3 separate regions of the Homo sapiens genome follow, and all the other regions are linked to region 2. Evidence: promoter capture Hi-C in human tissues and cell types (Jung and others, 2019). All regions are on one chromosome and are shown on one strand. Each heading gives the region's core, a stretch centred on a gene start or on the middle of the fragment in contact. The rest is flanking DNA. Distances are from core to core; before and after follow the strand shown.

Evidence for each region. Contacts are between HindIII fragments. The study calls those that stand out against the background at their distance.
Region 1: a contact is called between a fragment that was not itself captured here and the fragment with the promoter of GPR3 in region 2, in 3 of the 25 tissues and cell types used here (liver, mesenchymal stem cells and spleen).
Region 3: a contact is called between a fragment that was not itself captured here and the fragment with the promoter of GPR3 in region 2, in 3 of the 25 tissues and cell types used here (dorsolateral prefrontal cortex, hippocampus and lymphoblastoid cells).

What each region holds. Positions count from the first base shown.
Region 1 is chr1:27,126,687-27,129,386 of GRCh38, forward strand. All of the region lies in intron 1 of SLC9A1 (solute carrier family 9 member A1), which reads right to left. Among named protein-coding and RNA genes, the nearest start is that of SLC9A1, 27 kb to the right of the region's middle. The HindIII fragment of the contact is 6,234 bases long and covers 1-2,700 here.
Region 2 is chr1:27,391,277-27,393,976 of GRCh38, forward strand. GPR3 (G protein-coupled receptor 3) reads left to right here and starts at 1,346. Exons shown (of 2, transcript NM_005281.4): 1 at 1,346-1,461; 2 at 2,518-2,700. The coding sequence starts at 2,523. RefSeq lists enhancers at 1-498, 499-1,035, 1,573-2,108 and a silencer at 1,050-1,549. The HindIII fragment of the contact is 10,052 bases long and covers 1-2,700 here.
Region 3 is chr1:27,760,495-27,763,333 of GRCh38, forward strand. It overlaps FAM76A (family with sequence similarity 76 member A), which reads left to right. Exons shown (of 9, transcript NM_152660.3): 9 at 1-2,622. The coding sequence ends at 87. Among named protein-coding and RNA genes, the nearest start is that of STX12, 11 kb to the right of the region's middle. The HindIII fragment of the contact is 6,157 bases long and covers 1-2,839 here.

The DNA.
Region 1 (2,700 bases), core at 177-2,676, 260 kb before region 2:
ACTCTCTAGGCCTCAGCACGGAGCCTGACACATAGTAAGGATAAAGACTTGTTGAGCTAGCAGAACTGTTTGAGGGCAGAAGTCATGTCTGGTTTAACTTTTTTTCCTTCCCTTTTGTGTATATATTTTTGGGTTTAACTTAATCTCCAGTGTTTGGCACTAAGCACATGGACACTAAGCTCCAGCTGAATTGGCCTTTTCCTTGAAGGAAGGGTGAGAGTTAGGCACCAAGAAGGCCTGGCAGGCAAATCAGCAGCATCTGGAAAGACAGGACAGGGAAACGAGTGTGGTACAGGTAGAAGATTTATTTTTTGCGGGGGGAGGGGGCAGGGAAAACAGAGTCTGGCTGTGTTGCCCAGGCTGGAGTGCAGTGGTACGAACATGGCTCACTGCAGCCTTGACTTCCTGGGCTCAAGTGATTCTCTCACCTCAGCCCCCCATGTAACTGGGACTACAGGCGCGTGCCACCATGCCTAGCTAGTTTTTGTATTTTTTGTAGAGATAGGGGTTTTGCCATGTTGCCCAGGCTGGTCTCAAACTCCTGAGCTCAAGAGATCTGCCTGCTTTGCCTCCCAAAGTGCTGAGATTACAGGCGTGAGCCACTGAGCCCAGCCCAGGTAGAGGCTTTCTATTGGAGCAAATGGCAGTGGACTGGAGTGGAAATCATTACTTAGATGCTGTAAAGCAGACTTTTCTCTCGCCCTCACAACATGCCCTGGCAGTGGGCAACAGATGAGAGAACAGACATTGAGAGAGGTCCAGACACAGGCCCAAGATCACATGGGTAGCAGCGGAGGCAGGTCCCAAACCCAGAACTACTGACTCCCAATCCAGCGCTCAGCCAAGGCCAGTTATGAAAGGCCACAAATACCCTGCAGGGAGAGAATTCCCAATCACCCTGCTGAGCCAGGCAGAGCCACTGGAGGGCTCTGGCCTGGGGAACAACATGAAATTCTGCCACTTCAGGGAGGTGGTCAAGGGAGACAGCGCTGGCCACCCAGGCTCAGCACCTGGCATAGGGCAAAGTTGTCCAAATGCACAGCCATTTAGTCTCAGCTCCAGGGACAGCTGGCACTGCCTCCTGCACAATACCAGCAGGATGGGTGAGCACCCCCTCCATCCTACCTCCAAATGCCTCAAAAGACCAGAAAACTACAATTCTGAGAAAAGAAAGGCCTGAGTCAAGCCCAGGCTGGGGATCAGGGGAACTGGGCTTCAGTCTAGACTCAGCCACTAACATTCTGTGGGCTTTGAACAAGCCGTTGCTTCTCTTTGGTCTCAGTCTCTCCATCCTTGGGGGCTTGTTGAGAGCCTCTCTACCTCTGACATCTGACTGATGAACTCTGCAGCTGGACAAAGTCGGGCTCTGTGATACTCACCATCTCTGTCCATGCCAGCAACTGTGGCATCTGGGTACAGAATAGCATTCGTGCCATAGCAAGCTTGCACGAGGCAGCAGCGGGCAGCGTAAAGAGCTCTGGTCCATCAATGAGGGAGGTAGTTTCTGTCCCAATTCTAAATCTTAACTTCTCTGTGACCTAATAAGGCAAATCACGGTACTGCCCTGAACCTCAGTTTCTTCCTTTCTAACATTGGGATAAAGAATGTCTATGGCACAGCGTTGCTGTAAGAGGAGAGAACAGAGACAGAAACACTCAGAAAAAAGCAAAAACAAAAATATATGCCCAGGCCAGGGGAGGTGGCTCACACCTGAATCCCAGCAGCGGGGGAGGCCGAGGCGAGAGGATCACTTGAGCCCAGGAGTTTGAGAGCAGCCTGGGTAACGTGGCAAAACCCATCTCTACAAAAAATTTAAAAATTAGTTGGGCATGGCTGGTGCATACCTGTAGTCCCAGCTACTAGGGAGGCTGAGGTGGGAGGATCACCTGAGCCCGGGAGGTTGAGGTTTCAGTGAGCCGAGATCATGCCAACTGCACTCTATCCTGGGCAACAGGGTGAGACCCTGTCTTTAAAAAAAAAAAAAAAAAAGGCCAGGCGTGGTGGCTCATGCCTATAATCCCAGCACTTTGAGACGCCAAGGCGGGCGGATCACCTGAGGTCAGGAGTTTGAGACCAGCCTGGCCAACATGGTGAAACCCCATCTCTATTAAAAATACAAAATTAGCCGGGCGTAGTGGTGCATGCCTGTAATCCCAGCTACTTGGGAGGCTGAGGCAGGAGAATCACTTGAACCCAGGAGGTGGAGGTTGCAGTGAGCCGAGATCCTCACGCCATTGCACTCCAGCCTGGGCAAAAAGAGGGAAACTCCATAAACAAACAAACAAACAAACAAACAAATGCATGCACGCACGCACGCATGCCAGACACTCCCGTGCAGATCTAGATTCCCAGAAACCAGCAGCGGCAGGGTCCCAGAGGCAAGCTGGCAGCACTAGGGAGGCAAGAGCTTCTCCTAAACAGGCACCTGAGGGGGAAGCTGTCCAACTGCACAGCATTAAGGCTCCATGGGCAGCAGGCACTGCCTCCTGCACAATACCAGCAAGATGGGTGAGCTTTCCTGATACTGGATCCTCTATCTCAAGGGGGTCCCCTAAGGGTCTCCCATACACTTCTGATAACGATCCAGCTGGCTGGGCTCTGTGTGGTGGGAGAGACAGGGCATGCTTGGAGGGCCTCTCCCTGCCTCCTCTCCCACCACACTGGGGATAGTTTGTCACTTCAGGCCTCTAGGAGCCACGA
Region 2 (2,700 bases), core at 96-2,595:
CCAGTGGGGCCTGGGATCCTCAGGCCTCTTAACCTCATCTTCCCCTCCCACAGGCCTGCATGATTCCAGGGAGCATCAAGGCAAGAGACACAGGGAGAAGGAGCAGCCAGTCCCCCTGCCGCAGGACTGGCCACATCTGTCACATCTGGAGAAGTCTGCCCAGAGTGGTTCCCCTGGACTAAGGGCAGATGGCGTTGGGGAAGAGGGAGCTCTTTCTCCTTGCTCCACCCATCAGGATGCCTAAAATAGGAGGCTGAGAGGGGCCTGCCCTGAGGACTGAGCTGCCAGGCTTTCTGCTTCCAAGTTCTTCCCGGCTCCCCATCTCCTCCTGCTTCAGGGAAGTGCACCCCTCACCCCCTCCACGCTGGCTTTCTAGATACTGGAATAAATAATTCAGGTTTTGAAATCTTGCCAGGCCCACCCCTCCGGTGCTGTGAGGGCGCTATTGGGCTGACATGAGTGACGTCACCCAGCTCTTATCCCAGCCCCGGCATCACGGGACTTGCCCTGGCAGCAACTTACCTGCCTGGTCACTGTCAGTCCAGACCCTCTACCCTGTGCCCCTCACCCTGGAGCCCACTCACCACAGCCACCTGCTATCTTCGTTCCAGGGCCCCACAGTCCTCATGGCTTAGCATTGTCGCTTCAGTACCCCAGCCATTCTGACAGGGTAATGGTGACCTGAAGTCACCTGGACACTCCATGTTCCCAGGCCGCTGCCTCTGCCATCCCGGGGTCCCTGAACTCCCCCCTGCTGCATAGTCACCCTGACACTGCCATGGTTGCCCTGAGGGCTTCCCCTCTACCGTTAGCGTCCCACGGCCATCACCCCCCACCCCAAGATTCTGTCACCATGCTAATGTCGTCACTGCCACCCACCTCCCCGCTCCCTCGTGCTCCCTGTCATCGTCACCTCAGGGCCCCATCATCTTGGAAACCCTGTCATTCTCACCAGGGAAGCCCAACCAGCCCCATCACAAGCTCTTCCTTCGTCACCTGGATCTCGTCAGCCTCTCTGCCACCCAAGGGTCCCATCACCCCACAGCCTAGCCGGGCCCCCTTTCCACTCTTCCACCACGTTCCCTGCAGCCTCTCTGAGACTTCAAGGCTCTCGCACCGGCGCCTCTGAAACCCCCGGCCCGCAGAGGGCGCCGCGTCAAGGACAGCGCGGGCGGACTCGGGAGGGGGCGGGGCCGCAGCCACGGTCGCTTTTTATGAATGGGGGAGCGGGCGGTGCGAGGCCTTATTACTATGCCGCGCAACGCGCGCTGCGCCCCAGCGCGCCGCGCCCATTGGCTGATCGGACCGCTGACGTCACCGAACCGGTGGCCGGGGGCGGGGCGGGGTGACTCACGCCGCTTCTCCCGCGGCCGCGGGGGCTTCTCGGGGTCCACGCACGCCCTGCGCCGCCAGGACCCGAGCGGAGCCTCCCCGCGGCCCGGCCGCGCCTGGTCCTGAGCGGTGAGTAGCGGGCCCCGCCGCGGGCACCAGGGGTCCTGAAGGGCACGCAGGATGCTGGGGCACTGGGCCGGCGGAAGGCTCCTAGTGGCCGGCCGGGGTTCGAGTTCGAGGTGGGAATTCTGGGTTTAGGCGATTCTGGGTTAGCAGGCTTGGGCCCAAGTGCTCGAGTGCTGGGGTTGAGTTGGATGACCCGGCGAAGGGTAAGCATTCCTGCAGGGACCCGAGGCCCTGGAGGGACTGATGGTCATCTGAGGTTAAGCCGGCAGGAGGCGTCTGGGGCAGGGACCCAGGGGTCCGAACAGCAGGAGGTGTCCAATTTAGGAATCCAGGTATCCAGGCAGGAGGCAGAGTCAGGCCCAAAATCCAGGTGTCCGGGCAGAAGGAGGCATCTGACTCAGGGATCCAGTCTTCCAGCAGGGGGGTCTGCCCAGAGACCTAGAGATTCAGGCGGAAAGAAGGGTCCAGCCAGGAACAGAAGTCTGGGAGGGTGGGGGGTGGGGGGCTGAGTTCCCAGGTGTTACCGCGGGAGTGCGGGGTGATGGCTGGCGGGAGCTTCACGCGCATTCCCTGGGGGCGGAGTCTAAGGCTGGCAGTACTGAAAATCGTGAGGGGTCTGGGAGCCTCAGGCACGAGCTAGCATCATCATCTCTGATGGGAGGGAGCGGAGCTGCTCAGTCTCCCTGATGGGGTAGATGTTTCCCTACCCCAATCTTGAGCCTTCGGGGGCATCCCCTGGATCCTATGGCCCTCTTCCACTTATAGTACCCCTTCTTCTGTCTCTCCTCTGGTCACACACGTGGGAAAAAGAGACCTGCAGGACCTAGGACAGGGATCCCCAGGAAGAGACCCCTGTTTAGAGGCCTGGGGGCATTGGAGGGGACAGCGGTATCCTGGGAAGAGCCCCAGGGCATGAATGTGGGGATAAGGCATTGGGACCCTATCAGGTATCCTGAGGAGAGACTCCCACCACGTATCCTGAGAAGCACCTCACCCCCTCCAGACCCCAACTCCCATCACCCAGCTTGGTCAGCTTCTCACAAGGCCTTTCTCCTGCAGGTACCATGATGTGGGGTGCAGGCAGCCCTCTGGCCTGGCTCTCAGCTGGCTCAGGCAACGTGAATGTAAGCAGCGTGGGCCCAGCAGAGGGGCCCACAGGTCCAGCCGCACCACTGCCCTCGCCTAAGGCCTGGGATGTGGTGCTCTGCATCTCAGGCACCCTGGTGTCCTGCGAGAATGCGC
Region 3 (2,839 bases), core at 203-2,702, 370 kb after region 2:
GCCAAAAACCGAGAGCTCCTGAAGCAGGCAGCTGCTTTGTCCAAGAGCAAGAAGTCAGAGAAGTCAGGAGCTATAACCTCTCCATGACAGACCTCAAGGAGGCTCCCTAGCAACAGCAAATGGAGTTGTCCAGGGTTAGGGTTGGAGACCTGGCTGTTCTGTGGGAATTGCAAGCTTTCTTAAGAAATCTCTATTTTATTACAGTTATCCTTCTTTGTGCGATTGCAGTGGGCTGAATGGAAACACCTGGTTTGTGCTGTGTTAGACTGCATGCTTGAGTGTTTGGGATTTCAAGCTCGCTCTCTTTCTCTCACTATTAGGACTTTTCTTTTTCTTCTTCCTCTTCTCTCTATTTTGGTTCTATTCTTTTTTTTTCTTTTTTCTTTTTTTTTTTTTTTTTTTTTTTGTGGTGGTCACTGCTCAGTGTAATGTGCAGAATGATTTGTTTTTTGTTTTTTTTTTTTTTTTTGGTCCTTCATTGCATCCTGCCATACCCATGAGCAAACAGTTTGGCATTAATTATATATCACTGCCACCCTCTGAACTTTGAAAACTGCCATCTTCAGACTTGGTATAATGGAAGAGGCTTTCTCTCTCCAATAAACCTTTTGCTTCAGGGTATACTCTTCGGTTTTTTTCCAGATGTATTATGTATGAACTTTGTACTATGTATAGCCAGAGTTTTATTTATTTTTTAAAAAAGAAACTTTTTCTTGATAAAGGAATAATGGTGGTCTAGCTAGTTCTTGTAAAAGTGATGCCTCTTGAAAAAAAAACAGTCCTATTCACTAGCTTTTAGTAAAAGAATCAGATCTTTTCTTTCTTGTTACCTTGGAGTCTTAAAAACTGATTGCTAAGGTGAAACAATTCAATGCATAAGTATGGAGCTAAGTGCCTTTTGGAGGATTTCTTGGAAGAGCATTTATGGAGATACTTAAGGGAGGTAGCAAAGATTTGAACCGTCTGTCTTTTTAAGTAAGGGCAGAAAGCAAGGTTGTCCAGGTTGTACTGGACACTTCTCTCCCCACCCCTTTCCTGATTGTTTTATGTGATTGATTTTAAATTCTCACACTGCCACTTCTTTAAAAAATAAAATCCTTTATTTGCTTATATCAGTTGTCATACTGGGCTGCTGTCAGAGAATGTTTTTTTACATGAATGAACAGATTAAAAATGGAATAATATGGTCGGGTGCGGTGGCTCACGCCTGTAATACCAGCAATTTGGGAGGCCAAGGCGGGTGGATCATTTGAGGTTAGGAGTTTGAGACCATCCTGGCCAACATGGTAAAACCCCATCTGTACTAAAAAAATACAAAAATTAGCCGGGCCTGGTGGCATGCACCTGTAATCCCAGCTACCCAGGAGGCTGAGGCAGGAGAACTGCTCGAATCCCGGGAGGCAGAGGTTGCAATGAGCTGAAATCGCAACACTGCACTGCAGCCTGGGCAATGGAGTGAGACTCCGTCTCAAAAAAAAAAAAAAAAGGAATAATATTTGAACTACAGAGCATTTTTGGGGTCAGCATGAGCTGCTCTAGTAAGGACTCTTGAGTCTGGGAAAAGTGGTATCACTATACCTTCTCCCCACTCCTCACCCACCCGAGCCCATACACTCCCTGCTTTTCATGGATATGTATTGAAAACAGGTGCTTCTCAGAAGCACTTTGCCTCAACCAGAGTTATGTATGCCCTGCCTATCTTCCCTTCTTAACCCTGTAGGAATATGGATTTACTTTTCCAGGAAAGGGGATAGATTTACATTTCTAGGCATACTCTCAGGTCCTCTATGTGATGTTTGTGAAAGGAATTAGGGTGTGTCATGTGTGCCATGAAACAACAAAACCAACTACCCTAGAATCATTTATGCAGGGGGTACTAGAGTTAGAAATAATAATGAGGGCAGATAACATTTGTACCTCAGTCTACCAAAAAATTATAGTACTAAATTTAACTTCTAGGCGTTTCCTGGAAGCAGATGCTCTATAATTTGTGATAGCATTCTCATAAATGGAGTCCTACACATAATTGGACAGAGATGTGGAAATGGTGGTTTCCTTCTGATAAGGGATACAGTGGACCATGTCGCTTATATATCACCCTACTAGGGGATATAATTTTCCCTTCTAAGCAAGGGAAATGGCAGTGCTAAATAGTTTTGTAAAGTTTTTGAATGAGAAGCTTTTAGGTAAAGATAAACTGTCATAATATTTTTCAGATGCATTTGCATTGACTATGGGAGAAAAATTAGGGGGAAATGACAGTCATGGTGTTTTTTTTTAATTTTAAGGACTGAAATTCTGTTACATGATGTATGACAATATAAAAACATACTTAGTTTTATACTAAATCTTTTTTTAAGGTCTTGGCATTTAATATAAAGCAAATTCACACGTTTTCTAACTTTCCATAAGTTCCAAAAAGGGAAAGAAGAAACCTCAGTCTTGAAATTTTGATTTTTAAAAATCATGACACTGTTTTACCATGAAATTGAGTAGCTAACTTTTGGTAACACCTTTTGTTTCTTTGTATGTTTGTAATAATGGACATTTTAAAACACAGGAATGTTTTGGTTTGTACAGACTTTGACAAATGTGTGTTAATAAAAATTCATATTGACTCAAGTGTAATTGTTGGATTTTGTTTTTATTTCTTGCTGTTTACCAGTAGACATACCCCGTTATCCCCTTCAGCCCTTCAGCCTAGAAAAGTTTGTCTTGCTTATAGACTTAAAAAATTAAAAGCCTAACTGCTAATTGGGAATTTCCTGTCCATTAGAGAATAAACTCTTTCTTTCTCTCTTCTATGACTGTTTTGAGACAGAGTCTCACTCAGTCATCC